7 separate regions of the Homo sapiens genome follow, and regions 2, 3, 4, 5, 6 and 7 are each linked to region 1. Evidence: promoter capture Hi-C in 16 types of primary human blood cells and fetal thymus (Javierre and others, 2016). All regions are on one chromosome and are shown on one strand. The core of a region is centred on a gene start or on the middle of the fragment in contact, and the rest is flanking DNA. Distances in the headings are between cores, read along the strand shown.

The links. The method cuts DNA at HindIII sites, captures the fragments that hold promoters and counts their contacts. A CHiCAGO score of 5 or more calls a contact.
Region 2: a fragment that was not itself captured here is called in contact with the fragment with the promoter of FANCL in region 1 in 7 of 17 cell types (total B cells, M1 macrophages, M0 macrophages and 4 more); the score reaches 7.5 in total B cells.
Region 3: a fragment that was not itself captured here is called in contact with the fragment with the promoter of FANCL in region 1 in 1 of 17 cell types (erythroblasts); the score reaches 5.4 in erythroblasts.
Region 4: a contact is called between a fragment that was not itself captured here and the fragment with the promoter of FANCL in region 1, in 3 of 17 cell types (monocytes, endothelial precursors and total B cells). The highest score is 5.9, in monocytes.
Region 5: a fragment that was not itself captured here is called in contact with the fragment with the promoter of FANCL in region 1 in 1 of 17 cell types (activated CD4 T cells); the score reaches 5.8 in activated CD4 T cells.
Region 6: a fragment that was not itself captured here is called in contact with the fragment with the promoter of FANCL in region 1 in 2 of 17 cell types (erythroblasts and naive B cells); the score reaches 7.5 in erythroblasts.
Region 7: a contact is called between a fragment that was not itself captured here and the fragment with the promoter of FANCL in region 1, in 10 of 17 cell types (M2 macrophages, total B cells, M1 macrophages and 7 more). The highest score is 7.6, in M2 macrophages.

The regions. Positions count from the first base shown.
Region 1 is chr2:58,239,902-58,243,176 of GRCh38, forward strand. FANCL (FA complementation group L) reads right to left here and starts at 1,424. Exons shown (of 14, transcript NM_018062.4): 1 at 1,317-1,424. The coding sequence starts at 1,412. RefSeq lists a silencer at 1,022-1,071 and an enhancer at 1,612-1,771. The HindIII fragment of the contact is 7,787 bases long and covers 1-3,275 here.
Region 2 is chr2:57,904,460-57,907,953 of GRCh38, forward strand. It overlaps a transcript of VRK2 not described here. Among named protein-coding and RNA genes, the nearest start is that of VRK2, 140 kb to the right of the region's middle. The HindIII fragment of the contact is 2,268 bases long and covers 825-3,092 here.
Region 3 is chr2:57,785,721-57,788,940 of GRCh38, forward strand. It overlaps LOC105377628 (a long non-coding RNA gene), which reads right to left. Exons shown (of 3, transcript XR_940110.3): 1 at 92-3,220. Among named protein-coding and RNA genes, the nearest start is that of VRK2, 260 kb to the right of the region's middle. The HindIII fragment of the contact is 4,814 bases long and covers 1-3,220 here.
Region 4 is chr2:57,868,887-57,872,104 of GRCh38, forward strand. No RefSeq gene overlaps it. Among named protein-coding and RNA genes, the nearest start is that of VRK2, 180 kb to the right of the region's middle. The HindIII fragment of the contact is 2,379 bases long and covers 595-2,973 here.
Region 5 is chr2:57,925,015-57,928,042 of GRCh38, forward strand. It overlaps a transcript of VRK2 not described here. Among named protein-coding and RNA genes, the nearest start is that of VRK2, 120 kb to the right of the region's middle. The HindIII fragment of the contact is 5,212 bases long and covers 1-3,028 here.
Region 6 is chr2:57,814,428-57,817,467 of GRCh38, forward strand. No RefSeq gene overlaps it. Among named protein-coding and RNA genes, the nearest start is that of VRK2, 230 kb to the right of the region's middle. The HindIII fragment of the contact is 752 bases long and covers 1,115-1,866 here.
Region 7 is chr2:57,888,372-57,891,631 of GRCh38, forward strand. No RefSeq gene overlaps it. Among named protein-coding and RNA genes, the nearest start is that of VRK2, 160 kb to the right of the region's middle. RefSeq lists a silencer at 2,166-2,215. The HindIII fragment of the contact is 4,477 bases long and covers 1-3,260 here.

The sequences.
Region 1 (3,275 bases), core at 174-2,673:
CAAAATATTTTTAGACACGTAAAATGTTTAAGATTTAAATAAACTGCTAAGGCAGGTACAAATTGGAATTCTAGCTATAGCAATGGTCATAAAAGAAACTTTCATCTAATCTCAATTCTAATGGGTGTACTTGTTTCCTAAAAGGCCTTAGCAGATATAGACATACATAACAGTATTTTGCCTAAAATTAGGTATAACATGCTTCCTGTAAAAAAAAAAAAAAAAAAGTAACTTAAAATTTTTCAACTTTTCTAAATGTTGTCTACAAGAGAATCATATTTTCAGCTAGGTAATTCAAGAAGAATACTTCTAATTGGAGAGGGAAAGGTGGATTAACTTTTTTCCATATGGAATAATGAATTTTTAACCTCTACTTTCTGTGATGGTCATATGGTAATTCCACATATACTCAAAGACTATGCGTGATGGTGGGGAAGTGGGCACAAGGTTGAGTGTAATGGTCAGAAAGGAAAAGTCTACACTCCTAACCTAAGGTATCCTGGTGCAATGTAAAGAGAAAAAAATCCAGGACTGAAATCACACAGCCTGCGTTTAAGGGATTCTGATGTGATCATCAGCAAATAACGTCTCCGGTTTCCCATACCTTGATTTCTTCAACTAGAAAATGGGAATGATGATTCTTTTAAAAATTTCTGCCTCAAAGGGCTGAGGATTAAGTGAACTATTTACCTGGAAAGCGCTTTGTAAACTTCAAAACCCTACACATGTGTTAGTATGTGTAATAAACTCCATATGAGAGGCCACTGGAATCAGCAAAGTTAATTAATTCCATTGCTGTCATGCTTCTCCTAGAAGATATTGTAACTGTGGGTGTACAGGTACATACGACTTGGCAAAGGGCCAAAATAAGGTTTTCTTCCCAAATGTTCTTTCTACAGGAAACACGAAAATAATTAGCCCAGATTCCCGAGTGAACTCATCAACATCCGTGGAGGTGGAGGGTGTTAAAATCGAGTTAAGGCAAAATTTACAAAAAAAAAATTAAAAAACAGTCAATTGCGGGACACTGAACGAAGAAGGAAGCCAAACTCGGGGAAGGGCTAGGGAGAGAGGAGGCGTGGCCCCAGCCCCGCTCCACGCCGCGCGCCTCCTCGCTCCCCATCCAGCGCGGCGACCACCGGGGTGGCGGCGACAGCGGCGCTTCTCAAACCTTTAGTCTCCCAAGAGCCGTTACGCGCCGCCCCTCTCAATCCCCACAAGTCTGGGCCCCTAACCTCCTAGCCCGTCACAGACTTCTCCGCGCAGCTACGCTGCAAGAGGCTCTCTTAGCTAGAAAGCAACCACTGGGCGGGTACCTGAGCCGAGATGAATCCCTCATACACGGTTTTCGACCGGTTCTGGGGCAGAAGCAGGGGGCACTGGCGCAACAGGCTCGCTTCCGTCACCGCCATGGCTCGAAGTCCGGAGAAACACAGAAAAGCTCTAGACCTGCTGGGTCCTGCACATGCGCAGTCCGCTGGCGCTCGGACGCCGCGGAGCGGAAACCCCAGCCTTGGCGGGAAGATCCTGGAGGATTCCGCGGGCGGAAATGAAGGTGAAGCGCAGGCCAGGCCAAGTGGCGCTCTGCGGGAGGCGACATCAGGGCTCCCCAACCGGTAGTGGGAGGGAAGATTGCCCTCAAGTCCACAGGACTGACTGACCAAGATCATTCTAGCCTCAATTGTCCCAGGAGCCCTTTCGATGATTCTGTTTTACTTTATTGAAAGACTGTTACAACTTTGGTGTTGCATTTCCTCCAGAATAAAATGACTTTTACAGCCTGGACGTTGTAGCACTCTGTCTTCTTTGCTGTTGTCCTCTCTCCCTTAACATACAGAATAATGTATTATTTTGTGTATAATTATTGTAATATAATGTATAACACATTGATTATATCATATATATTACAGTTCTGTGGCTTACTAAGTTCAATCAGATATATTTGAGGCACACACATGTATACGTATATGTGTATTGATTAGACTCAAGTCAACACTGGACTCAGTTCTGTGTACGGCACTCACAAATATATAAAGCAAAACATGAGTAAAGATTGCTGATGGACTTGAACTTAATTTTCCTCTGACAGCGCTTGCAATATGTTTTTCTAACTCAGGAATGTTATCCATCCCATCTTATTAAGAGTTGATTAAATAAGAAACCTACTAAAATATTTACCATATGATTATTTGATTTTCCAATTTTCCAATTTTCCAATGCATCACGTTTGAGCCCTACTATTTGAAAAACATCATTGTAATGTGCCAAAGGTTGAGCAAAGATTATTTCGTCCCCTACCCATCTTTATTGACCTCAAGACAGAATTTGACATCCTGAAGATTCTTAAAGTTTGACAAGAATTTGTCACAGCATTCTGGATGCTTACAGAAAAGAATGCTGGAGCAGTGGTTAGATATAAATTACATTAAAGCAGTGGTTCTCAAAACGTGATCCTAGAACCTAGCAACAGCATCACCTGGGAACTATGTAGAAATACAAGTTTTCACCGCTGATGGGGTTCAGGATATGCTACCCCAAAATATGGCCCCTTGACATTTGAGAAAACAACAAAACCTAAGATCACTCTCTGACCTTCTCCCATCCTTCTTCCCTGAGGCGGGTCATTGGATCCTCAATCCAGAGGTGCTCTTCCTATACCCACAGGAAAGAAATATCCTTATCTCTAAAGAAACGGAGACATAGAAAAGAATCTGAACAAAAAGACCTTTGACAACTTACCCCAGTTTATTACCATTAGACCATGCTTTGTCCAACCGTACTTCCCCACAACTGTCCACTGTTCCTTCTAAAAATGCACAGGTTTTCCTGTTTCTTTGGGCTTCATCTCTGAAGGCTCCCATGCCACATAAAACTTAAATAAATTTGCACGCTTTTCTCTTATTAATCTGTCTTTTCTTATAAGGGACTCAAACAGGAATCTAGCAACAGGAAAGAAAGATGTTTCTCATTCCCTACAGGCCCCTATTTCAAACCTCGGGAATCCCAAACACTGGCAATAGGGCTCAGCAGTCTGCGTTTTAACAAGCTCTCCAGGTGATTCTGATGCATGCTAAGGTTTGAGGATCTCTGCAGGGGCAGGACATAACACCTGCTTTATTTTGCAACTCGGTAATTAAGGACGGCCATGCTACATGTTTTCCTATAAGAATAAAGTAGAGGCTGTGCAAAAGTGGGATCAACACAAAGATTAAGAGAACATATAGTCCCTTACTTCAAGCACTTTATAATTTATCTGTGAATTAAGATCTTTATTG
Region 2 (3,494 bases), core at 709-3,208, 330 kb before region 1:
AGTAAAACACAATCTATTGAGTTGTAACTCTGATGAAAAATTTTGCTAAAATCTGAGACACATTATTTGTCAAATAAGATTTTGTGTTCTATGCCATATCAAAGAAACATGTTGACAAATGAAGAGTTAAGTAAATTACACATGAGATAAGTGTTTGTCTTGATTTGCTTGGGGGTATTGTGTATGTGTGTTTGTTTTTCTTTGTTTCAGTTTGTTTCTCTGGTTTGTTGTTTTTCTTATTATGTCATGCCAAACAGTAAATTTGATAGATTAATTTTTTTTATCATGGTAGTGACCTAATTAGACAGGTTGTTTTATTTGCAGTTGTTTAGCACACAGTCACATAGACACAGCCTAAATCAAGACTTTACATATTAAAAAAGTTAGAAATTTTAAAGAAACACTACACAAAACTGGGTAGAAATTGGAGAGTTCATAAATAATCTACTCTGACTTCTGATTCCAAATCCACTTCCAAATTTTTGTTAGAGTTTTATGACATATTCTGTTAAAAAAAAAAAAAGACAAAAAGGTGTAAGAAACACTCATTACGTGGCTTAAAAATGAACATTGAAATCACTCTGCTGATTCTGTTTTCCACAGGCAGTCACAACAATACCTCCATCTCACATACCCTTCTTAAATGTGACTTGGACACTATTCCCATGAAGAAATGGTCTGTGTTTCCTACCTTAAAAATGGGCTGGCTTTGTGACTATTTTGACTAACAGTGTATGGCAGAAATGATGTTATTGACTTTTTGTGTCTAGGTCATTAATGACCAAGAAGCTTCTGCTTTGTTGGCTAAAATACTTGTTCCTGAAAGCTTGCAAGAAGTCTGACTGCATTGAGGCCACCATGCTGTAAGGCAGACTAAACCCACCCAAAAGAAGAAGCTGCATGGAGAGGCCATGAGGCTACACAAAGAGTGAGAGATGATGGCAGCCTCCAGCTGCTTCGACCTCCCATCCTCCAGCTCTAGCACTAGCTGTAGCAAACAACTGGCCACAACACTAGGAAAGACCACCCAGCTCAGACCATTCCCAAATTCCAACCCACAGGAATCCATGAGAAGTCATAAAACAACGGTTATGTTTATAACCCCAAAGATTTGGGAGATCATTTATAGATCATTCATTTATTAAGCAAATGTTTACTGAATGTCCAGTCTGTGCTGGGCAATATCCTAAGTACAAAATCCTGCAAGGATTTTTTTTTCTCAAAGGAGTTTAATCCCTCTATCCTCTCTGCTTCCATGGCTCTTTAGATTGGTAATATAGCATTTATTTATTTTGTCCATATTGGTAATACAGCATTTATTCTTTGGTCCATATTGGTAATACAGCATATTTTTCCATATTCTATAAGTTGTATACATGTTTGATTATACAATTCTAAATTCAGGATCTGATTCTGAATTAATTTTATTTGCCTCTATAGTGTTCCTAGTGTACGTAAGTGTTGATATATAGCACCTATCTGGATAAAAAAAATTGATGCAGGAAAATTAATACCATTAGCCCCCATGATACAAATTAAACTAATATTCTTGAGACATAATTTATTTAAAATAGCTGAAGTCTTCAACTGAAGGAAAGGAAATACTTTTTAAAAAACATTTGAATATGTGATTATTCCTTACAGCAGTCAAAAGAGAAAGAAATAAGTACTTCTCAAAGATTCTAGTAATTAGTAAACAAGCCACGAGGTACTTAAAATTACCTTAAACCAGTTTTATTTTGTCAAATAGTCTGTTACTACAGCTATAGATAATTTTGTTCTAAGTGTAGCTTAAAACTAAAATGTGCCCTGGATAAGATAAAAAGTAGTGTCTGGGCGTCCTCATTACAATCTTCCTTCCTACCACTAGTCTATGCTGTTGCACTAAGTACTGAATGCTTGTTCAGTGTCCATAGGAATGTGGGGAAGATCACTTTTGTCTAAGATTTGTTACTCAGATGGGAAAAAGTCAAATGCCTTATTTTTTCCCCAAAATAGAAGCAGGCAATTTATAAACAATTCTGTTCACGAAAAAATGTATTCTGAATTCATAAATTTAAGTTATATGTTTTAACTATGTCAATTAGAAAAGGAAAATATTATGGGGGTGGGGCCTCCCTTTCTAATTTTGAAAAGAAGGAATCTAATCGTCATAGTTAAGCACTCTTACTTACAATGTTGAGTTTTTGTTAATTTCTCCTGGTCCTCTGCCTCACTTTGATCTGCATTTAATGAGTTACAAATCCTGTGAATTTTACCTCAGCGCTGTTTTTTCCACCTAGCCCATTTTCTCCCCTTTGTATTAACACAGTTTAAAACCTCAATGTCTATAAACTGCACAGTGCAGGCAAACATGTATTGAGGTCTTATCTGTGTGATGTCTTATGCTAAGGGCTTCACATATGTACACTGTTTAAATCTTACACAAATATGATGAAATAAATTCTAAAAGTTTTCCTGTTTTACAGATGAGAAAAGCCATGGAGGACTTTTTTTATTATTATTTTTATTTTTTTGAGACAGAGTCTTGCTGTGTCACCCAGGCTGGAGTGCAGTGGCGCGATCTCGGCTCACTGCAACCTCCACCTCCCAGGTTCAAGCGATTATCCTGCCTCAGCCTCCCAAGTAGCTGGGACTACAGGTGCCCACCACCACGTGCGGCTAATTTTTTTTTGTATTTTTAGTAGAGACGGGATTTCACTATGTTGACCAGGCTGGTCTTGAACTCCTGACCTCGTGATCCTCCCGCCTCTGCCTCCCAAAGTGCTGGGATTATAGGCGTGAGCCACTGCACCCAGCTGAGGACTTTTAGAACTAAGTAATTCACCCAAGGTGATAGTCAGTAGTGGTGGAACCAGCATGCAAATTAGACAATGTGACTTCATAGCCTAGTATTCTACTCTACTTCTGTAACTTATGGCTGGAAGGGACTTTAAAATTCCATCTACTCCATGTTTAATGCTTCATTCTCCCTTAACATTTGCAAAGTTGTCACTAGCCTATGTTGGAACATCTCCAATGACTGTCACAATAGTCTTCTATCTCTCAACTCCAACTCACCCTATGCTCTGCCAGATTCATTGTTTTCAAAAAGCTTTTTGTCATAATCTCCCTCAGCTCAAATAAACAACTAGCATTTCCAAACAGAGCAACTACAACCACTTCAAACATCCTAAACTCCCTCCAACCCTGGCTATTCACACGCTTCAGTTCACAACTTCCATCCAGAATCCTACTTCTCTGATTGTCCTCATGGGGAAAGTATGCTATTTCCTTCATCCTACAAGATGCTTCTCACTGACTCTATCCATATTCTTCTCATCCTTCAAGAGCCAAGTCAAATCTCTCTGCTTCCAATAAGCCTTCCTTGCTACACTCAGGTAAATGTAATCTCTCCATCTCCTGGCGAATGTCTCGATTTCTTTTTCTGTGCTATGCCTGGTGTGACAGGGAGTCAGGGCCAAAGATGATCTAACAAAGTCAGAACATGATAA
Region 3 (3,220 bases), core at 483-2,982, 450 kb before region 1:
AGATGAGAGGCACTATCCTTGTTTCTCTAGACTCAGATACCTACACAGCTATCATATACACCATTAACGTCAAATTATTAAAGGATCCTACCTTTCATAATAAAAGAGGAAAAATATATTTTCCTTCTACCCTTCTAGGTTCTCAGCTTGGGTCTTTCTGTAACCAAAGAAACATTAACATGAGAAAAGCATTTGCTTTACTTGATACTTACAAGATGTTTAATGTTTTTACTGTATTGCAATTTTACTATTTCATGTGTTTTACCTATTACTTTATTTATGGAGAAGTAAAAGTGTCAATACAAGAGTTTTCCACACTTTCTACTCAAGGAGGAGTCTATGAACCAGCACAGTGCTTTTTATCTGGAGACTTAATAGGAATGCAGAATCTCAGGTCCAGTCAAAACCCACAAATTCAAAATCTGTATTTTTTATTAAGAAGATCCAAGTGATTAAAACACACTGTCCTTGGTGATAGAGCATTGATACTCACTGTCTTTCCAATGCAAACACACATGCGACTAATAATACACTCAATGCCAGTAGAATAGAGTGGGAAGTGTTATGTGGTTTAGAAAAAGCCAAGCCAGGCATCCTGATATACCTTCTCACAAACGTATTGATTACTTTTCCTTTTCAATTCCTTCAAAACAAGGATCACCTTTCAATCCATAGCAGTTATCATGTTTTAAATTTACTAATTTAGTGAATGCTTGGGATTCACTCACCAGTGATTTTCTCACCAGATCAATAAACCTGTTCCTCTAAAATCAAAGCAGTATCTTCTAGAATAATTTGACCTTCTAAGATATGAATGTTGAGTAATAAAATTTCCTCACAAAACAAAACTCAAGTGAGTTACTAAAGTAGTATATTGTTACTTAGTCAAATCCAGAATAACTCGGTCACTATATATAAAAACATTAACATTAAAAATAATTATGCTAACCTAAGATCTTAATACAATTCAGTCCTTCCAGTGAGCCCAACTTGAATACTAAGAAGGAAGTCACTAGGAAGCTATATTCACAATATAATCTTCTAAAAGAATTCATTTTAATTAAAAACCAGGTGGTCCTGAGTTTTCCTCTAAGGCTCTATGTTAAAAAATCCCATTGATCATACATTCTATAATGAAAGATCCAACTATAAACCTGGAGGAAAATGGAATAGATGAATCAAAATATTCTCCTTCTAGTTAATATAATCTTGGTTTCCAGTAGGGGTTTATAATTATAACACTGAAAGTAGAAACCATGAAGCACAAAGCTGGTAAGTTTGTTAATTAAAGATTTTAAAAAATTTCTCTCTATAAAAAAATCTACATAATTCAAAGGCATATTTACCTAAATATAAATGTAACCTTTATAAATAATGAAAAGATTAATATATCAAAGGAAAAATTGGGAGAAGTGATATGATTAGGAATTTCACCAAAAAATGACCAAAAACCACAAAATAATGTTTGTCACTTTAATAATCAAAAAAAGCGAAGTAAAAAAGTAAGATATTGCCAATCATTTTTACTGACATAAAATTCTAACTATACTAGCCAGTGTTTACAAGAATTTGCGAGTGCTTACTCTGATGTATTACTGGTAGAAAGGTGAATAATTTAGCAATATGCAGCAAAAGTCTGAAACATTTGCACACTTTTTAAACAGCAAAACCAACCTTTCCAAATTTACCTTTAGAAATAATCTGATCAGTGTGATGATGTTCAATATGTAACTGTTAAAAAAGTGTAAGCAACATAAGTGCCCAGTAAGACAGCTCATTTGAATAAGCTACGGTACATCCATGCAGTGTAACAAGATGCAAAGATTTGAACGTAATGAACGTACAATGATATGAGAAGTTCAAAATACGTTAAACGGAAAAAACAAAAAAAAGTATACATTATGATCTCTTTTCAAAAAAAATGTGTAAATGGATGGATAGCTAAATGGATGAAGAGTGACATACAAAGTAAGTACATAGATGGACAGATCAAGCAATAGGTACAGATAGGATAGATAACACAGACTGGAAGGATATTCAACAAAATCTCAACAACTTCATTTAAATCATTGGTGTGTTTATGGGTACATATCTAATTCCTAGTTAAATTGAACTTTTTAATATGTTAAAAATTATCTTGTAACTTTTCTAATCTGTACTTGGTCCACTTTTCTATTAGGATTTTAGCATTCTAGGTGTCAACTTATATGAATTCTTTGACCATGAAGATGCAATGTCTCTGAAATAGTTGCTGCTAATAGTTTTTCTAGGTTATTTTCTCCAAGGATGTTTTTTCCATTCAAAAATTATTACATTTTTATGTAGTCAAACCTATGGTTTTCCCTTTTTAATTTTTTTATTTTTAATTTATGTGGGTATAGTTATATATATTTATAAGGTATATGAGATGTTTTGATATAAGCATGCAATGTGAAATAAGCACACCATGAAGAATGGAATATCCATCCCATCAAGCATTTATCCATTAAGTTACAAACAATCCAATTACACTCTTTAAGTTATTTTAAAATGTTCAGTTATTATTGACTACAGTTATCCTGTTGTGCTAGCAAATAGTAGGTCTTATTTATCCTATTTCTTTTTGTATCCATTAACCACCCCCACCTCTCCACTAATTCCCCACTACCCTTCACAGCCTCTGGTAAACATCCTTATATTCTCTATGTACACGAATTCAAATATTTTTGATTCTTAGATCCCACCAATAAGTTAAAATATGTGATGTTTGTCTTTCTGTGCCTGTCTTATTTCACTTAACATAATGACCTTCAGTTCCACCCATGTTGTGGTAAATGACTGAATCTCATTCTTTTTTATGTCTAAATAGTACTCCATTGTGTATAAGTACCACATTTACTTTATCCTTTCATCTGTTGATGGACACTTAGGTTGCTCCCAAATCTTAGCTATTGTAAACAATGCTGCAACAAACATAGGAGTGCAGATACCTCTTCAATATACAGATTGCTTTTCTTTGAGATATATATGCAGCAGGAGAATTGCTAGATGGTATGGTAGCTTAATTTTTAGTTTTTTGAGGAACCTCTAAACTGTTCACCATAGTGGTTGTACTAACTTACATTCCCGCTAACAGTGTACAAGGTTCCCTTTTCTCCACATCCTTGCTGGCATTTGTTATTGCCTGTCTTTTGGATATAAGCCATTTTAACTGGGGCGAGATGATATCTCATTATAGTTT
Region 4 (3,218 bases), core at 534-3,033, 370 kb before region 1:
TTATATTTTTAAAATCACAAAGACTTTGAGTGTTCTCACCACAAAAAATTGTAAGTATATTAGCTTAATTGAGTCATTCCACAATATGTACACATTTCAAAATATCTTAGTGTACACAATACATACAATTCTTATTTGTCATTCAAAAAAATAAAATATAAATGAATGAATGAATGATCAGTAGAGGAAACCAAGAAGAAGAGACCAGAGAGAAAGAGGAATAATGAAAGGAAAGCTCCCTCAGGAAAGCCAACAGAGGTAGCACTTTCAAAAAGGAGAAAAAGTTCAACAATGTTAAATAGCTCAGAGAGGTCAGAGAGCCTGGGGAAGATTATTAAAGTTGTTTATTTGGTCATCAGCCACATTAGAAGCACAATTTCCAGAGAAGAGATTGTAGTTGGGCAGCAACTGGTTAATGATGAAATTAGCATTAATTAATATACTTGGTCTAAGATCATAAATTACAATTTCTCTGAAGAAAACAGGACTTCAGTTAAAGGCCTTATCCCACTGAAATTCTACTTAAATTGCTTACTCTGGTAGCAAAAAGAACCACAATGTGGGGGAATGTGAGACCACTCGGTTGCAGGTTTAAGCTTAATACCTAGAGTTGTCCATTTCCAAATGAGGACTATCCCCAGTAGCCATAGAGACTGATTCAAAAGCCAATTACTTCTGTGCGCCTCTATTCCCTACTTTGTCTGATTTGTGGTGAAGGCTAAGCACAGAGGGAAAACGCCAAATAAAATGTTCACTGTCTCCATAAAATATCCTCACATTACAAGAAGATAATCCTGCTTCTTTGAACTAGCTAAAAACTGACCTTCCCTCACTCAAAACTGCCTGTAAGAGTCCCAGGACAGGTTGTTCTGACATTCTTTTAACATCATCTCATCATCACAGCCAAAACTAATCACAAGAATATTACCCGTTGACAGGTGCATTTATTCTGTCAATTAAATCAGATGGTTAAATCGAAATGTGCCCCAAATCTCTCTTGTTTGCATTATCCATATTGGCGTTTCTTGGCCGTGGTTCATTGCTGGCTGGAAGTCGTCCAGCCCCCACAGAGTCACTTTGCAATATTGTGCCAGCAAGTTTCTATGCTCTGCAACAGCCGCTCCAGCGAGGCCCGAAAAGCACTACAGGACTGACCTGGAATGTTATATTGCTTCACTAAGATTTATTAAAAAATGGAAGGAGGGAGACTTAGATCAATGTTTTTGGAATAGAAGAGGATATATCACCTCATGGCTAAGCACAGGTGACACGTGGGCAATGAAGCGGAGATGCTAAAGACAGGCAGTGAAAAAGGCACACGGAAGATGAAACCAGCCATACGCCTCCAGCTTTCAGCCCCTTCTCTAAAACTCTCCTCCATCAACATGTCCAAAGAAAAGCAGTCTCTTAAAGGCTGACTCCTGTTTTTTAAGACCATTTCCTTAAGAAAATATGCAAATATAACCATAACAAGCAACGGAACCGATTCTACTGAACCACATTCCCATGTTTAGCTACCAGCAAGATCCCTAAACAGATACTGAGTTTACACGACATTTTGGCCACAAAAAGTATTCAAAAAGAGACATATTAAGGACAGGTCTCGGATTCTAGTACCTGATGGATGGTTGGAATGCCAGGATATTTTGGCTCGTATTTCAAAATCCCTTGCTTTTTTCAGCCAGTGTCACCACCTAAGCATAGCTATAAAGATGCCAGTTTTTTGTAAGGTGCATTTGAAAAGCAAATAGTTCACATTGGAGAGTATGAATAGACAACATAAAAATAAAATGGAGAGGTAATGAGTGAAAAAAAATCTAGGGCATGAACAAGAGTTGACATGTTAGACTAGAATGGTAGAGTCACTAGAGAATGTCATGTCTTCTAAAGATATGTTTGGACATAACTATAAATTTCATTCTCCGCATTATCTACCTGAAAGGACCTAACAGTCTCCTTGAAACATTTCAATTGTCAAATAAACATACATGTAGACTTACCTTTTTAAAGCTCAGTATTGCATTATATTGCCTAAATATCAGAAAATATTTGTAAACTATATTTAGCTTCTTTTTTGTCAATGTACATTATCTGCCCAAGGAGCTGAGATGATTTTCCACAATGTTTTGGCTAAAGACACAGTCAGTGACTTTTTTGGTCAAGGTTTTATCCTTTAAAACATGGCATGAAGTTTTAGCCACTCAAATCTCATTGACTCTAATGGTTCAGTCTTCAAATACCACTTAAAAAGTTTAAATTATGATTTATCTTTGAGGACAGTTACCATCAATCAGGTAAATACCTTTTCTGGCCAATTTGTAAGATAGGTATTCTACTCACTTGAAAGAAACGATTTTAGCCTATTTTGCATTTTATTTGAGCACTTCTAAAAAAAATCATATTCTATACCCAAGATAATTATTTGATCCCCAGTTTAGCTAATTAGCATTTAGGACATGGATTGTTCATAATACAAAAGACTGGTCAGGAAAAAAAATTAGCTACCACATGTGCACACTAACCAGTTTGGAGGATTTATTATCCAGGAGTTCTGAAATGTCACAGCTAGTTCAGCAAGACTGAGGAGTTGCCCTCTGCTGAGGAGGAGGAATGGAAGATAGATTTCAACAGGACCCAATGCAGAGCAAGGCTTAGTCCAAATTGTAGATAACTAACTTATCAAGGATGCAATCAGTAAACAAGTAGGACCTATATCCTAAACTTTGAAGTCTAGTATATAACTTTTTAATGCAAATGTGATAGTAAAACAACTCTGAGATGTTTCACTGGCCAGGCTTAAAGTCAGATCTGAGTACTCTAGGGGAAGAAAAAAATGGCTTCCCTTTATCTTGCAGGTTCTTTGGGTGGACAATGCATTATATTGACATAATACATATTAACAAGGAAAAAAAACATATTTAATTACATGAGTACACGAGAGTCCCACAAAAAAATATGACTCAAAGAAGATCAAGCTTGAAGCTTATATAGCATCCTGAGCTACAGAAAGGAATTAGGGCCTGAGGCTCCTGGTGGGGTGGTGGAGACAAGTTATGGGAGGGTGAGGGGAGAAAATGTATGGTAAATGAATGTCATCTTGTTATGCAGATAAAAAGTCTCTCAGGTAATAAAAGTGGTCTAGGAACAGCCCTTTTCCAAATACAGATACTTTTACTAATATAGATTTCCTTTATAGATGTAAATTTTCTTTACAAAAG
Region 5 (3,028 bases), core at 60-2,559, 320 kb before region 1:
TTGATTTGCCTATGTTGCTCCATCTTTGCATCCCTGGGATCAATTCCACTTGGTGATGATTAGTGATCTTTTTAATGTGTTGTTGAATTTGTTTTAGTATTTTGTTGAGGATTTTTCCATCCATATTCATCAGAAATATTGGCTGGAAGTTTTCTTTTTTTGATATATCTTTGTCTGGTTTTGGTATCTGGGTAATACTGGCCTTGTAGATGTGTTTGAAAGTATTCCCTCCTGCTCTATTTTTTCAAAATAGTTTGAGTAATATTGATATTAGTTCTTCAAATGTTTGGTAAAATTTGGCAGTGCTGCCATTGGGTTGTAGGCTTTTCTTTGCACATTTTATTATGGCTTCAATTTAATTACTTGTTCTTGGTCTGTTCAGGTTTTGGATTTCCTTATGATTCAATCTTGGTAGATTGTATGTGTCTAGGCATTTATCCATTTCTTCTGGATTTTCCAATTTATTGGCATATAGTTGCTTATAGTAGCTTCTAATGATCCTGCAAATTTCTGTGGTATTTGTTGAAATTTTTTCTTTTTCATTTCTGCTTTTATTTATTTGGGTCTTCTCTCTTTTTTTAATAGTCTGGCTCAAGGTTTGTCTACTTTATCTTTTTAACAAATCAACTTTTCATTTTGTTGATCTTTTGAATTTTTTTCATTTCAGTTTCATTTATTTCTGCTCTGATTTATTATTTTTCATTTCAGTTTTATTTATTTTTCTCTAATCTTTATTATTTCTTTTCTTCTAATTTTCAATTTGGTTTGCTGTCTTGATTTTCTAGTTTTTTAAGATGTATTGTTAGGTTGTTCATTTGAGGTTTTTGGCTTTCTTGATATAGATGTGTATAGCTATAAACTTTCCTCTTAGCGCTGCTTTCACTATATCCCATAAATTTTGGTATGTTCTGTTTCCATTATCATTTGTTTGAAAAAAATGTTTTAATTTCCTTCTTAATTTTTTCATTGACCCACTGGTCATTCAGGAGCATACTGTTTAATTTCCATGTGTTTTTATAGTTAATACAATTTCTCTTGATACTGATTTTTAGTTTTATTCCATTGTGGCTAGAGAAAATACCTGATATAATTTCTTTTTTTTATTTTTTAAGACTTTTTTGTGAGCTAAAATATAGGGTATCTTTGAGAATAATCCATGTGCTGAGGAAAAAATGTATATCCTGCAGCCATTGAATAAATTGTTCTGTATATATCTGCTAGGTCATCTTGTTCTATAGTGCAGATTAAGTCTAATGCTTTTTTGTTGATTTTCTGTCTGGATGATCTGTCCAATGCTGAAAGTTGGGTATTGAAGTCTCCAGCTACTACTGTATTGGGGTCTCTCTTTAGCCTTAATAATATTTGCTTTATATATTTGGGTCCTCCAGTGTCCTCCAGTGTCACATATATATATACATATATATATGTGTGTGTGTGTGTGTGTGTGTGTGTGTATAGTGTATATATATACAATTATATATATATATAGTGTGTGTATATATATAGTGTGTGTGTGTATATATATAGAGAGAGAGAATTGTTTTATCCTCTTGCTGAACTTACCCCTTTATCATGATATAATGACCTTATTGTTGGCCTCTTTTTACAGTTTTTGTCTTGAAATCTATTTTGTCTGATAAAGCAAAGCTACTCCTGCTCTGTTTTGGTTTCCACTGCATGGAATATCTTTTCCATCCCTTTTTTTAGTCTTTTTTTCATCTTTTTTTTTCAGTCTTTATAGATGAAGTGTATTTCTTGTAGGTCACAGATCACTGGGTCTTGTTTTTCTATCCATTCAGCCACTCTGTGTTTTTTGATTAGAGTGTTTAGTTTTTTTATATTCAATGTTCTTATTTATAAGTAAAGACTTAATCCTACCATTTTGTTATTTGTTTTCCAGTTGTTTTGTAGACTTCTTTCTTTCCTTTCTTCCTGTCTTCCTTTTAGTGAAGGTAGTTTTCTCTGGTAATATGTTTTAATTTCTTGTGTGTGTGTGTGTGTGTGTGTGTGTGTGTGTCTGTCGTATTTTTTTTAGGTTCCCAGGAGGCTTCTGAATAATATCTTATAACCCATTATTTTAAATGGATGACAACTAAAGATTAATTGCATAAACAAACAAGCAAAGAGAAAACTAATAAAACTCTACACTTAAACTTCTTATCCCCACTTTTGAACTTTTTGTTGTTTCTATTTATATTTTATTGTATTGCCTATGTCTTGAAAAGTTGTTGTAGCTATTATTTTTGATCTTTTCATATTTTAGTCTTTTTTTTTTTTTTTGAGATGAAGTCTCGCTCTATCGCCCAGGCTGGAGTCCAGTGGCGTGATCTCGACTCACTGCAACCTTTGCCTCTCGGGTTGAAGAGATTCTCCTGCCTCAGCCTCCTGAGTAGCTAGCATTACAGGTGCATGGCACCATCCTGGGTTAATTTTTGTATTTTTAGTAGAGACGGGGTGTCAGCATGTTGATCAGGTTGTTCTTGAACTCCTGACCTCATGATCCACCTGCCTCGGCCTCCCAAACTGATGGGCATATTTTAGTCTTTCTACTCAGGATATAAGTAGTTTATGAACCACAATTACAGTTATAATATTCTGTGTAACTATTGCCACTGAGTTTTACACCTTCAGATGATTTCTTACTGCTCATTAATGTCTTCATTTTTTCAGATTAAAAAACTCCCTTTAGCATTTTTTGTAGGACAGGTCTGGTGTTGATGAAATCCCTCAGCTTTTTTGGTCTGGGAACGTCTTTATTTCTTCTTTATATTTGAAGGATATTTTCACTGGATCTATAATTCTAGGATAAAAGTGGGGTTTTTTTCCTTCAGCACTTTAAATACATCATGCCAGTGTTTCCTGGCCTGTAAGTTTTCCACTAAAAGTCTGCTGCCAGATGTATTGAAGTTCCTTCCTATGTTATTTGTTTATTTTCTCTTGCTTTTAGGATACTTTCTTTATCATAGATCTTTGAGAGTTTAATTATTAAATGTCTTCTTTGGGTTAAATCTCCTTGGTGTTATATAAC
Region 6 (3,040 bases), core at 241-2,740, 430 kb before region 1:
TACTGCAGATCAGCAGGCAGAAGCTGGTCTTTTCAAAATGTTATATTGGGTCAAATCGATATCTACAGGGAACCAAAGTAGATGACCTTTTGTTTCCATTAGTGGGAGAGTAAATATTTTGAAGTAACCATATGAAATACAATATAATGAGTTACAATGAGTTAAAATACTTTCAATCTTCTTAAAAGTTTTACATAGCTAACAGAAGAATAAGGAACTACCAAGCTGGGTTTAAAAACTATCACCTGTCCAGAGAGAATAGCTTTTAGCCATAAAGCCATTTGTCTACTTGAAAAAAGTGGTGAGAGGTAAAACTAAGTAAGATTTCGTTTGTCTTAGAAGTTAAGAGTCCTGAATGCAACTAAGGTGGAAACCCAGCTACACCAATCCTATTTTGGGTTGAGATTGTGAAGAGCTGCATATTTTGAGTAAAGTGAACCAGAAGTAAACTGGTTCTCACAGAAACTGCAGCCTAACTTTAGTCTTCTGATTGGCCCAGGAATTTTCAAACATTGAATATGGATAAAGAAAATCAGAGATTGCTATCTTTCCCTAGGTGCCAGGCAAAAGGAAACAAAAGTTCTAGATAAACGAAAATAGCATTATCCTAAGCCTTAAAATATTTTTTAAAATAATGTTTTAAGTACACATCCAATATACCAAGTATAAAAGAGGTAAGACTAGACGAAAAAACCTACAGAAAAAATAAAATGGGCAATATTTACAGACCTACAGAAAATCCAGGTTCTGTGATTATTAGACACTATAAAAATTAACACTGTAGAACAACTCATTTTGTTAGAGACAAAAGCTACATTTGAAAAATTCAGAAATGAAGTGGTAAATATATTACATAATATCAGATCTGATAAAGAGTCAAGTAAAAATTCTAGAAAAGAAAATTACAAAGACAAAAATTAAGGACAAAATTAAGAACTTAATAGACTTAGGAACTAAAGAAATTAGAAATGAAATAAAAATCAGAAGAAACTACCCATAATGAAGCAGTGAAAGACAAGGAAAAAGAAAACATAATAGAAAGCAAATATTTAGAGGATCCCTGGAAAGGTACAATACATGTGTACATACATACCTAATTAGAGATTCAAAAGGAAGCTTCTTTAAAGTCAGACAGTAAGACTAACAAAAGTTTTCTTAATACTAAAATTGGAAGCTAAAAGAGAATAATATCATATATTTAAAATACTGATATAAAACAATTGTCAACCTAGAATTTAAAGAACACAATTAATAAATTTGACTTATTGGACATACATAGAATTAGAGACTACACATTCTTTTTGAGGACACAAGACTTACAAAAATTGACCATATACTCATATGTACTGACAAATCAGAAAAATTTCAAATGTTTAATATCGTAGAGCATTTTTTCTCTAAATCAACTGTAATTGCACTAGGAATCAACAACAAAGTAGAATATTACATGTATTTCTAAATTAAGAAATATTTACATCTAAAGTACTTATGAGAAGATAGATAATATTTTCTACTGACTATTAAAAAATACTACCTAGAAAAATCTGAGTGATATAGCTAAAGCAAAACCAAGAAGAATATTTATATTTCTGGATGTGCATATTAGTAAAATTAAAAAGCTAAAATTAAGATTATCATCCATCCCAAGAAGAGAAGAAGAAACAAAACAGAGCTGAAGGAAGAAAATAGTAAAGATAATAGCAAATAGTGAGAAGATTAACAAATGCAAACTTCTTTATTTGAATAAGAAATTGATAGTCTTCTGTTATAAATGATCAGGAAAAAGAGAATGTATAATAAAGTAATATTAAGGGGGAATGAAAAGATGAATCTTACCAAAGACCCAAAGGACATTTGAAACAAATAAGCTTTTGCCACAGACAATTATAAAATTAAAAACCAACCAACAAACAAACATGTTTTGAGGCACTGGCAGCAAAGATCACATGACTGCAATCCTTGAGAGAAGGGAAGTGCCAAATTAAGCCTCACATTTACCCTTGTTTTCTTCCTGGGCATATTTTCTAATCTGCTGTAAATGGAAGAATTACAAGTCCACGAGGCAGAGGAAACAGAGCTGTTAAGGAGACTGAAGTTTGGAAATCAGGAAATTAGAGAGAAGAAAGCATCAATCCAGGAGCAAAAAATATTGATGTAGTGGTATCATTAAAGCCTTTGGCTAACTATTAACCTGAACACACATAGGACAAGATTTCAGGAATTCTAGCAGAAATTGTTACTGAGGGGCTTAGATTGAAACAGAAATTTCATATATTGCACAAAATGGGATCGATGTTGGAGATCAACCCCAGCCAAAGAAAAATATCTTTGGTGAATACCCAGGAATTTTTTTTGAGATCCTAGAAACACCATGCCCTAGGAGTAAGGCCTATACCACAGAATTAAGGGCAATATCAAAATAGACACACCCTATTAAAGCCTAAAACCAACCCTCCACATGATAATCTAGATTATCCACCTGAAATGCAATTATTGCCCAGAACAAAACTGAACCCTCATCAGTGGGTGATAAAATCCTTGAGATTCTATACAAAATATCATTCACAATATCAAAAATACAATTAAAAATTGCTACACATGCAAGGAAACAGGAGTAAATGATTGATAATCAAAAATAAATTATGTGCTTATCCAGAGATGCTTCAGTTATTGAAGTTAGCAGACAAGGTCTTGAAAGTAATTATCACTAATATGACAGTAAATTGAGGAAAAGATAGATAAATAAATGAAAATATGATATGTTTTATTAGAGCATTACAATCTATAAAAATGGAATTTACATGGTAGAAATACAAAATATAATATTACAAATTAAGAACTCAGTGGATATATTTAACAAAAGACTAGGTATATCATAAAATAGGATTAGTAAACTAAAAAACTGGTTATTGAAAACCTTTAAGTTTGATATATAAAGAAAAAAAGAAACCAAAACAGAAATGTAAGAGGGATATGAGACATTGTAGACATGCACATCTTTTGAAGTCCCAGATAAATAGGAGGTAATGTGATAGACAAT
Region 7 (3,260 bases), core at 227-2,726, 350 kb before region 1:
AGCTCTGTCTCCCCTCCCCAGCTTCAGTACTTCTCTACAAAAGCCTGTGAAACTGATTTCATTAAGAATATTCTCAAGTATGTTGGCATTTTTTATTGCAGCACTTGTTCATTATCAATCTCAGAACTAGAGAAGTAGAATTGTTGAACCAAGAACCTGGACTCTGAATCTTCAGGGAGGCAATGTCTGACTGCGAAGAGCAGAGCAGCTGAAGGCTCCTTCCCCAGCTACAGACACCTCTAGACCTTGACTCCTTAGACAAGAGGCGCCAGTGGTTTCACAGATCTATGTGCTTAGTACAAAAGGAAGAAAAGGCCACCACCACCTCAATACGACTGCAGGAAGTCATGGTAGAGGTTCACATCCAAAGAGACCACATTAAACCAGGATTTAAGAAGTTAGAACTCAAAAGTCTTACTTTCAAGTCACAACTTTGATTTGGGAGGTCCACTTAAACCTCACATTAACTTTCTCTCTTTGTTTTATCTTGCTGGCTATGTATCCTTGGGCAAGTTCTTTTCTTGACCTCCCTCAACCCCAGGCTCCTCATTACATCTATAAAATGAGGATAACAGTACCCCATCAAATTTTGGTGAAGATTAAATGAGATAATAATGTGTATGTGGTTCATAGTATTCAAGTTTTTCTAAAAAAAAAATAGACTTTAGTGACTTTCTTCTTTTTTAAATTTTTTATTTTTAGTTATTATGAACACATAATAGTTGTATATATTCACAGCGTACATGGGATATTTTGATACAGGCATACAAAGTATCAAGGTAATTGGGGTATACAGACCTCAAGCATTTGCCATTTCTATGTGTTAGGAACATTCCAATTTCACCCTTTTAGTAATTTTAAATTATATAATTATTGTTAACTATAGTCACCGTATTGTGCTACTAAATATGAGATCTTATTCATTATATCTAACGTATTTTGTACCTATTAACCATCCCCACTGCATATGGGCTTCCCTGCTTTCTTCCCACCCTCTCGTAAGCACCAGTTCTATTCTCTATCTCCGTGAGTTCAATTTTTTTTTCTTTTTTTTTTAGCTCCCACATATGAATGAGAACACGTGATATTTGTCTTTATGTGTCTGGCTTATTTAACCTAACATAATGCCTTCCTGTTCCATCCATTCAACTCTTAATAAATGTAAGAAATATTACAAGAGTGTCTAATAACATAGTATATACGATGTGTGTTTGTGTGTGTATAATGAAACCAATCTAGTGGTATTTTTCAAAACTGCATACCTATGTGTATATCTTATCAGGGAATTGTGAGCATTTTTAAGCTATTGCTTGTAAGATCCTTTGGCACCTCTCTTTGGGCACAGTGCTTTGTGTATTACTCTTTGAATAGGAGAAATATATTTATTATACATAATCATCATCTCTTTTTTTCTACCAAAAAGATCATAATAGCTAGAATGCTGGATACAAATATAAAAATTGAATACTAGGTCCCTGTGATCATTGCAGTTGCATCTTTTCTGAATTTAAGAGCATATATGTTAAATCCTTCAATCTGAGAAATTTAAGAATGTATCTAATGAACTTTATAAATAGAAATCTAGGAGTATTCTAGATACTTTTTGCATACAATTTAAGCTCAGTAATACAACCTATTGATTATTTGCTTTGATTTTTATTTTACTATTTGACCAAAGCAAGCAGAAACCTATGACTTTTTAGACTTACCCTATTTTAGGCTACAAATATATTACCCACTTTTGGGCCGACATAGTCAATATGAAATCTGTCACAAGATAAAATGAAATCCTCTGTATTTTGTGGTGGAGACATCATGGATTAGACTTAGGGTCAGAGGACCTGGGCTGTCATCGTGGCTTAGTTCTGAGCATACTATGTGACCTCTTGTGAACCACTTCACTTTGCTGAATGTCACCTTTCTTTTGTATGAAATAAGTTAGACTAGATCAGGGCTTCTCAATTCTTTCATGTGCATACTAATCACCAGGAGATTTTGATAAAATGAAGATTCTGATTAGTGGGTCCAGGGTGGGGCCTGGGATTGTGCATTTCTAACACGCTCCCAGGTGATGCTGATGCTACCAGTCCACAGGCTGCACTTTGAGTAGCAAAGGACTGCATATGTTCTTGGACAACTACAGTATTATTTTGGGTTTCTATAAGGTTATCCATGAGAAAGCATGTCATAATGGCCCCAAACAGGGATCAGGCACAGATAATCACTAACAGAGTGTCTAATACTTTACAGTTAGCAAAGTGCTTTCACATCCATTGAGTCATCCTAGCATTTCTGAGAGGAACCTAAACTCAAAAATGTTGAATCACTGGCTCAAGATCACACAGTCACATGGTCAATATGTGGCAAAGCCCAGGGTCAGATGTGATCTTCATCTCAGTTAGCTGTGCTCACACACAACCATGATTTCCACTGTCACCTTTGTGCTCAACAGGCCCCCAAATGCATCAAAGCCAGAGAAGACCTTACAGCCTAATTTCATTTTATACACAGCCATATAATTATTTATTTATTTAAAGTGATCTAAATATTGATCAAATCTAATGTTTACCTGTTAGAGCTGATTTAAGACTTCTATTTTCTTTCACATCTTTCAATTATTTTTCTGCTGCATCCTATTAATCAAGTACAGAAAAGCCTCTCAGACCAGCATGTGCATTTCCAGTTTCAATTGCTACAGTACATGAGTTCTAGATCTTAAAGGCCAAAAAGCATCTATTTGACTAAAGAGCTATAAGGCAGCCATAAAAATTATGGATCACAGAAATAAGCAATTAGTGTTATCTTCAATTGCTTTATTGGCAGTATTCACTCGTTAGAATAGAGGCAGCCGTAAAACAGATTGCAACATACTGTATAACAGCATATGGGATTTTACATTATAATGCTATTCTCTGCCAAGAAGTCATATTTTCATTTGAATGCATGGAACAGATTATCACAGGGTTTCCAGCATTAGAAGTGGATGACCCTCACATTTTTGTAGTTGTTGTTAAAAGGCAATTCCTGAAGTTATGACTAAATCAAAATAAATGCAATGGTGAATAGGGCTGTGTTACATGTCTGCATTCTGGGCCTTTAGAGACTGGGCATGGCATGGAGCTACAGCAGATAATAAAGTCAATCTCTAACGTGGTGGATAGAGGGAGAGTTGAGGGTTTGCCAGTCTTCCAAACCAGCTGGCGTCAATTCTGGAGGAAGCTGCTCGCCCGCCCATCTCATCATAGCTGAAGTGCCACAAA